3 separate regions of the Homo sapiens genome follow, and all the other regions are linked to region 3. The links are contacts of gene promoters, found by promoter capture Hi-C in blood cells and fetal thymus (Javierre and others, 2016). All regions are on one chromosome and are shown on one strand. Each heading gives the region's core, a stretch centred on a gene start or on the middle of the fragment in contact. The rest is flanking DNA. Distances are from core to core; before and after follow the strand shown.

Region 1 (2,700 bases), core at 139-2,638, 430 kb after region 3:
TCCTTCTCTTATTTGTAAAGGTCAGATAATAATACACATCTTATAAGGATAAAAAGATGAAAGATGCATAAAGCCTAGTGTAAGAGAATGTACATAAGACATACTTGGGTTCTGAGTCCTGACTTTGTCATTCATGATGGACTTAAACCTCGCTGAGCCTCAATCACCGAATCTGTAAAATGGGATTCTTGTGAGGATTACATAAGCTAATGCTCTTAGTGCTGTGACTGGCACGGAAGATGGGCAAAAATATTAATTTATTTTCTGCTGAAGATTGAGATTGCAATTAAAACACAATCTTGGAGTTTCGAGGAGATTGCCAGAACATTCTATTCCACAGCCTGCCTTGGATCATCCAACATACTGTAAAAGGGACAAACAATTTCTAGTTTCTAGTTTTGGTTTAACGCTTTTCAGCAGGCAAATGGCAATGAACCAACCCATTTTGCTAACAAACAGTGCTGATAACAGGAAAGCCTGGGTGAGCTGCAGGGACCAAGCGAGTGCAGGGCTCTGATGACTGTGGAGCCTGCCTATGAGTCAGATTGGAGGAAATGCAAGCAGGAAGGGGCCATGGTTACAAACACAGGCTCGGAGTCAGCCCAGCCGGCCTCAATTAAAATCCCATCTGATCACTGAATAACCCTGGGAAAGTGATTTAACCTTTTAGACCTTAGTTCTCTACCTTGTAAACTGTGAAAAATAATAGTACCTATCCACAGGGGCCTGTTGAGAGAAGCAGATGAGATGATCTACGAACCATACACAGGGCTATGTCCAGCACGTAGTGAGCTCTCAGTTAATTTTAGTACACCATTATTATTATTATTATTCATCCAAATATCTTCTACAGGATTCCTGCTCTGGAAAGAAAGTCCAGACTCCATGGAAAAGCCCCGCCCTACACCTAACTCCTTCTCCACACCCTACCTAACCTGAGAGCTCTCCGCACCTTAGCCCCCATCCTCCACGCTGACAACTCACCCGTGCAGTGTGGGCCCACCCTTCCTCACATGGTTGGTGTGAAAGTTAAGGGAGATAATTTAATGACAGTACTTTGTACACTATTAAAGACTGTGAAAAAGATGTCATTTGCACAGTAAGTATTTCTTGGCCTTGGCCATTTTTTTCATATCCTTTAGTGAAATCAACCAAATATTTGTTTATAATTTTATACTGCTTTCTTGTTCAAAAACTTTCAATGCCTTCCTTTAGTCTATTAAGCAGTCTCAGGCCAGGCATGATGGCTCACACCTGTAATCCCGGCACTTTGGGAGGCAGAGGCGGGCGGACCACCTGAGGTCAGGAGTTCAAGACCAACCTGGCCAACATGGTGAAACCCCGTCTCTTCTAAAAATACAAAAATTAGCTGGGCGTGGTGGCAGGCACCTGTAATCCCAGCTATTTGGGAGGCTGAGGCAGGAGAATCGCTTGAGGCAGAGGTTGCAGTTAGCTGAGATCACGCCATTGCACTACAGCCTGGGTGACAAGAGTAAAACTTGGTCTAAAAAAAAAAAAAAAAAAAGTCTCACCAGGGAACAAGCGTGTCCCTCCCCACCCCCAGGGACATTTGGCAATATCTGAAGACACTTTTGATGGTCATGACAAGGGGAGTTCTGCTAGATGGAGGCTGGGGATGCTGCTAAGCATCTATAATGCACAGGATGGCCCCACAGCAAAGAATTATCTGGCCCAAAATGTCACAAGTACTGAGATGGTGAAACTCTGCTACAAAGTGTCACTAATGGAATAAAATACCAAAGAGTATCTTCCTGTCGTTTTGGAATTTTGGCTAAAGCCCCAAGGTGAGGCCATGAGGTCCCCTCATGTTCTAAGGACTTATGAAGGTAGATGAGCTGGTTCTGTGACTTATTCCTCTTCTTGAGCCAATGTTCATAGAAGATTGGAATTTAAGGAGAGAAGTCCGTAGAATAAGGAGTATTTGGGGAGTAGAGTCATGGCTTTACCCTACCCCTTCAGGGTATACAGCGAGAGGGAGGGATCCCCATTCCCGTGGCAAATGAAGGGGGCAGAAAAGAGCCACTTATTGAGTGGGCGTGGGTACCTACACAATGGGGAGGCTGGCACCTGGCATCCTGGCTGATGCTTGCCTAGCAGCAGAAACCCACTGCCCCACCTTGCCACAGAGGGTGGGGAGGGAGAGCTGGGAGGGGCCTGAGCTACCGTGAGCATCGAGATGGATGTCTCTTCTTGATAGAGACCTCTGAGGACAGGGGCCCATTGTGAGGGTGTAAGTGGGGAAGGAAAGGGAGAGCACTGTATCCCACCGCTCCCCTCCCTGTACTTCGTTTGTCCAGGATATGGCATTTTCTGTGGGCCAAGTGAATTCCCTGGAAAAAAGTTGTGTTTAGAATATCCCGAAGGTACCAAACCAACAGAGTGGCCTCTCAAGGCAAGGGGACTCCCGCAGTAGGAGGCTGTGGGTTGAACTGCTGTGGGCAGGAACTAAGGGGTCAAGCAGAGCATTCGCTGCCCATACCTATTAGCTCGCAGCACAGAGTTCCCCATGGGGCCTCCTGAAAGCTCACCATGTGCACTAAGAAGACCCACCTGTTGATACTTGCCACATGGAAGGCATCAACAGCACCACGTACTTAAGAGCACTTCTCTCTCTTCTCATCCTTTCTCCAGGGCCCAATTCCCTGGTAGAGAGTGAAGGAAGACCCAAAAAAGGAAGGA
Region 2 (2,700 bases), core at 153-2,652, 460 kb after region 3:
ATTCTGGTCCAGGGCTTTCATGCCTGAGGTCAGCTGGAAGAGTGGGTCTGGGATGGTTTTCTCAATGTAATTTCTGTGCGCAGTTCCCTATGGTTGGTTCTCTTCTTCTAGGCCTCTAAATCCAGAAAGCCCGAGGGTTAAGAGAGAATCTCTTCCCCTTGCCCATCCCTGCCCCAACTCCCACCCCTCCAATTGTCCATAATCCAAGAGCTGCTCGTGGTCGTTTGAGGAGCCAAGACTTGGTTGGGTTAAGCAGATAGTCTTGAAACAAAAAGGGGACTGTGGTGGGGTCCAGCAGGGCAGGGGCCACGTGGAGAAAGAACTGGATAGAAAAACCAGAAAGAAGATGGAGATGAGGATGCTGAAATCTGTTTAACACCACAAAAGTGTGGAAAGAGAACAAAAGTTTGGGTAAAACAACTTTCAAGTTCAAAGCTGCTGTGCACACATGTGGCATGAAGATGTGGCAGGGAAGACGGTCCTTGTGTCTTTGCAGCCACTTGCCAGCAGGGTGCGCTCAAGTTCACAGCAATGCCCAGTGCCGCTGGAGCGTTGGTGGGGGCATTCTGGGAAAAGAGGGGCAAAGCTTCATTAAAAGGAATCCCAGATAATTTGGTTGAGTCTGTATTTTCCAGTGATGATGACTGAGGAGGCTCTGTTTTTAAATGCTATAACCAGCACGATTCATTTCAGTGGCTCCTGAAGAGAGGGCTTTGACGGGAGTTGCTGGTCTGCAAAGAGTCCAGCTTTGTTTTTAGCAGAGACACATCGGCCTCCTTTTCTCCCTCTTCAGCCCCTGCCTGCCCTCTCGTCGTGCTCTTTCCCTTGTGCAGATCCAAATCTGCTGCTGGGCATTTTTAGTCGAGCTAAGCTGTCGCAGAGATAAGTTCTGCGCCCACTTCTCTGTGCCCAAGGTGGCGTCTTTCTTCTCTCCCCAGGTAAGGTGCTGTCTAGAAAGAATCATGCTTGAGAGTGAGGGATGTCTGCCTTTCGATGAGATCTATGAGACTGACTCTCATGCCAGGCCATTGTGGGGCAGGAGATATTATACTTCTATTTTTCTGCGTTCCTTTGTCTGGATGGTGGGACTTGTCGGGGGGGCGGCTAGGTGACAGTTGGCCAGAGGAACAAGGAAGAACACATGTTGGGGAGGGAGGCAGCCAGTCGGCCTGCATTGTTTACCATTCCAAAGCACCAGTCACGGAGCTGCCTTGCAGGACAAGGCAAAGAACCAGGGTTAGACCTCGGAGTAAGGGTCAGGAGTAGGGGACCCGAGTTGATCAGCAGTGCCCATTTCTCAGCTTCAAGACAGTGCCTTTCACGTGTAGATGCACAGTGGGCATTTGTGGACTTAATTTTTCAGGTGGAGGATCTCTGACCCAACGATCACAATCAAATCTCTCATTAGTTTTAGTCCTGACAAAAAGTATCTATCAGTCAGAGTTCAGTTAGGAAACAAAAGCCACCCCCAGTTGCTTGATTAGAGAAAATTTAATATAAGGAATAGATAACTAGTCATAACTGAAAATGCAGGAAGAGAACACTAGGTTACCATAAATGGAGCAATTGCAAAGGGCCTACCACCCATAGGGCTGTTGGGGCAGAGTGGAGCTACAGGAGAAGGAAGAAGTTGGAATGATAAAAATTAGAGCCTTGGAGGAGATGCCTAGTGGACTCAGGACACAGACCTCTGAGGACGGGGCACAGGCAGCTGGTGTGAGTGTCTTTGAGGTGGGCATGGTGGAGCTAGCTCTGCATGAGTTGGGGAAGATGCCAGCTGGCTTCAGCTGCTGTCAGTGGGATGCTACCACTGGGATGAAGAAGCATTTCTAGGTGTTGCTCAGAACAACAGGTAGAAGTAAGGAAGTCCAAACAAGCAAACTTCTAGTAAGTAAATGCATCCTTCCTCCACCCTAACCTAGCGGAGCCTACCATGAGCCACCTGGCAAAGCAGAGAGGGGGTTTGCAGGGTCCCGGCTTCAGCGTTGCAAGGCAGGATAGAGAAGAATGGGGTTAGAGCTGAGACACAACAGCTGAAAAACTGGGACAGTGTGCTGGGCTGGAATATAGCAAAAGAGGATTTGGGAGTTGGCAAGAAGAGAATGAAACTAGAATTTCTTTTCCTTTCTTTTAAAAAATTCCTGACACTTCAAGAATAACAGATTTGACGATAAGCCACCAAGATGTTGGACTATCTGCCGGGTCTCAGAAAGCTTATATAGGTTTCTGCAGAGTAAGATGGCCCCATTCCTGACCATCCAGCTAGAGAAAGTTCTATGGAGGCTCAGCTAGCAAAGCGCTCAGGTGGGCTGGCCGCCCTCCAAAGCTGGGAAGGCCACCAGAGAACTGCAAACAGGAGAGCTACTGCCCTCTTGTGGACAACTGTGGTTCTGCAGGAGGGTAATGGGACTTGCAGGGTGCAGAGGTGGTTGGCTGGCCCACTACACCTGCCCATCTTGAACTCCAAGAATGAGTAGCTGAGAAAGGTTAGCTTGACCTTCTGATGCAAATGAGGAATCTCTCAGCATTGGTTCATGGTGGCGATGCTTTTCTTCAAGAAGAACAAAAGTCTCAGCACTGAGATCCTATTTGGCCGGGTACAGACACCTAAAGCTGAAAGAGATGCATCTGTTTCATCTGGACATCTACTTTGGGTCTTATAGTATCTTTTAGAACAGGGTTTGGCAAGCTTTTTCTGTG
Region 3 (2,700 bases), core at 62-2,561:
CAGGATCCCTTGAGGAACCCGTGCTCCAAATGAAGTTGGAGGGTGTTAAACGGTGGGAAAAACAAGTAGCCACATCTTAAAGGCTGTTAGGGGAGCAAAGAAAGAACCATCTGGGAGGACTCCACCCTTCTCCACCTGCAGAAAAAACCCCGGGTAAAGCTAGGAAGTCATTTCCCTTGTCTCTCCTTGCCTTGCGGATAAAACAAAGGAAACAGGCTCCTAAGAGGGTCAGACACCCATACGATGACCCCCTTCCGTGGATCCAAGACGCGTACGTCCTGGACACCGAAGAGCTTGGAGCCAGTACAACTTTCTCATTGAAGCCGACCACGTTTCCTCTTATAACCTTAAAAAACAGAAGCCCCTACTATTATCGTTTCATTGATGTCACGGCACCTATTTGGCTCTCAGACTTTTACCCGGAAACCCCTGTAATCCCCAGCCCTTGCGTGCAGCCCCACACTGGGCTCCCCTTCCCCGGGATGCCGCCTCGCGCGTTCCCGCCACCCTCGCCCTCTCGGCCGCGCTTCCCGGCTCGCTCCGCCCTCGGCACCAGGCTGCGCCGCGGGGCGAGCACGTCTGTGCCAGACCGGGGCTTGAGGGAGTCCATCGGGGGTTAGTGGGGGATCCTGCGGAAAGCCCTCTCCCCCGACACTGGAGTTGCAAAACAATAAGCATCCGCTTCCCTGCCCTTCCCCCATAGGACCCCGGCCACGAGTTATTAACGCGGGGGGAGAAAAGCCGGAGGAGCACTCCCGCCCTGCGATCGTGGCCGCGTACCCCCGGAACCCCCAAGGCCCGAGTCTTCGCCTGCCCCCGCCGCAGCGCCCCCAGGCCGCGCGGGGCGCACTCGGCGCTGGAGCGCGGCCGGGAGCGGAGGCGCGCGGGCCACGCGGTGGCTGCCGCAACTGACACGGCCCGCGGCCGCCGGCCACATGCGCCGCCCAGGGACAGAAGCCGGGAAGGGAGCGCGGCTCCGGGCCCCGCCGTACCTTGCCGCTAGCTGTTCCCCCGCTGACGCCTATAAGGAAGGGCTCGCCGCCGTTGGGCTGCTGGTGGTTCTGCAGGGTCTGCTCGCTGTCCCCGGCCATGGTTCGCGCCGCCCCTCCTCCCGCTGCCTGTGCGAACGGACGCACGCTCCCCGCCCGCGCCCGCGTCGGACTCCCTCCGCTTTCCGCAGCCGCCGCTGGGCGCTGCCGGGGCTGAGGCCGCTGTCGCTCGCCTGCGAGCCGCTCGGAGCCCGGTGACGGGGCTGGGTTTCCCGAAGGAGCCAAGAGCCTTCCTTTGCCCGCAGCGGCTGGTCCGGTTTACATCCCAGGCAGAGGTCAGCGTGATGCTGCTGCTCCAATCCGGGCGGGCAGCGCGCTGCTATTCGCCGAGGCGGAGGCGGCGAGGCGTCTGGCCCCAGCCTCCGCCCCTCCCGGGCCCCGCCGCCGCCCGAGGTCTCTGCGAAAGGTGTGAGCCCGACCTTCCCTCCCACCCGCCCGGTTAACCCTTTCTCCGACGCGCCCTAGTGGACCCTGGGGGAAAGAAACAGGCTGTTCTGTATTTTAATTTGGTATGCTACCACCTATTTTCAGAAGGGATAAAAAGCTTGAAGGAAATAATAGGCAGATTAGATAAGAAGGAATGGCCCAGGTTTGAGAAGCAAAATTTGAACAAGCTTGAAAGATTAGTGTGGAACGAAGAGTTAATGTCATTTACCCATTATCCAGGCTAAAAACTTGTGTTTCCAAAAAATGAGGGTTCTTTTTCCCTTCTCCCGTTCGCCAAGATAATATGTCAGCCGCTGGCTTTAGATATTTCCTGTCTTGGAAACCCCCCAGCGCCATCCTTTTTAGCAGGCCTGTCCTCGTGCGACTCTCTAGTGAAGGGCAATTTGAGGGGCTTATCTGAAGGGTGCCCTCCGTTGGAAAAGCAATTCCCTTCTAAACCACAGTATCTCATCCCATACACTGAGCTTCCTATGGAGTTAGGGTATCTGAAAACATACTGACATTTTGATCCATTAATATCTTCAATTGAACGGTTTTCCAGAGATTGGCAATCAGTCACTTAGAAAGGCAGTTTCAGACTCCACCTCTGGAGCCAGATTTCTGCATTCACATCCAGGTCCCTGAGCAAGTTACTTAATCTCTCTGTGCTTCAGTGTTCTTATCTGTTAAATGGGAATAATAATGGCAATTACATCCCAGGATTTTTGTGAGAATTAAATGAATTAGTGTATGTAAAGTTCTCAGAACAGTGCTGGTACAGTCTAGGCCCTGTATTAGTGTTTGAAGAGAAAAGGTTTCTAAAGCGCTGAAACTGGAAAGAAAAGTTTTGCTGGGACACACCTGAGAGAGGCAGGACTAGCCTAGTAACTTCCAGTCTCTTCTCCTGTGAACTTGGGACTAGTATCAATGAGCTGATGGGGCCTACAATCTAAAACAGAATTTACGTCAATAGCATTATCTTTTGAAACTTAGTAAATTACCTTAAATTGAAGATTATTTTGAAAAAAATAATTTTCTCTCAAGCCAGGGAAATCGAGGCTGCAGTGAGCCATGATCTCCCCACTGCACTCCAGCCTGGTCAGCAGAGCCAGAGCCTGTGTCAAAAAACAAAAACAAAAACAAAACAAAACAAAAAAAAGGATACCAGAGAAAACAAACTTTTTTCACTTTTAAATTAAAGTTGACACTTGAACAACACTGGTTC

Evidence for each region. Contacts are between HindIII fragments. The CHiCAGO score rates a contact against its expected background, and 5 or more counts as called.
Region 1: a contact is called between a fragment that was not itself captured here and the fragment with the promoter of UCK2 in region 3, in 3 of 17 cell types (activated CD4 T cells, naive CD8 T cells and total CD4 T cells). The highest score is 7.5, in activated CD4 T cells.
Region 2: a contact is called between a fragment that was not itself captured here and the fragment with the promoter of UCK2 in region 3, in 2 of 17 cell types (total B cells and naive CD8 T cells). The highest score is 5.8, in total B cells.

Annotation. Positions count from the first base shown.
Region 1 is chr1:165,395,981-165,398,680 of GRCh38, reverse strand. No RefSeq gene overlaps it. Among named protein-coding and RNA genes, the nearest start is that of LMX1A, 41 kb to the right of the region's middle. The HindIII fragment of the contact is 2,969 bases long and covers 1-2,700 here.
Region 2 is chr1:165,367,248-165,369,947 of GRCh38, reverse strand. No RefSeq gene overlaps it. Among named protein-coding and RNA genes, the nearest start is that of LMX1A, 12 kb to the right of the region's middle. The HindIII fragment of the contact is 1,627 bases long and covers 589-2,215 here.
Region 3 is chr1:165,826,225-165,828,924 of GRCh38, reverse strand. UCK2 (uridine-cytidine kinase 2) reads right to left here and starts at 1,311. Exons shown (of 7, transcript NM_012474.5): 1 at 993-1,311. The coding sequence starts at 1,091. RefSeq lists silencers at 423-652, 713-1,192, 1,273-1,522 and an enhancer at 404-957. The HindIII fragment of the contact is 2,018 bases long and covers 1-1,595 here.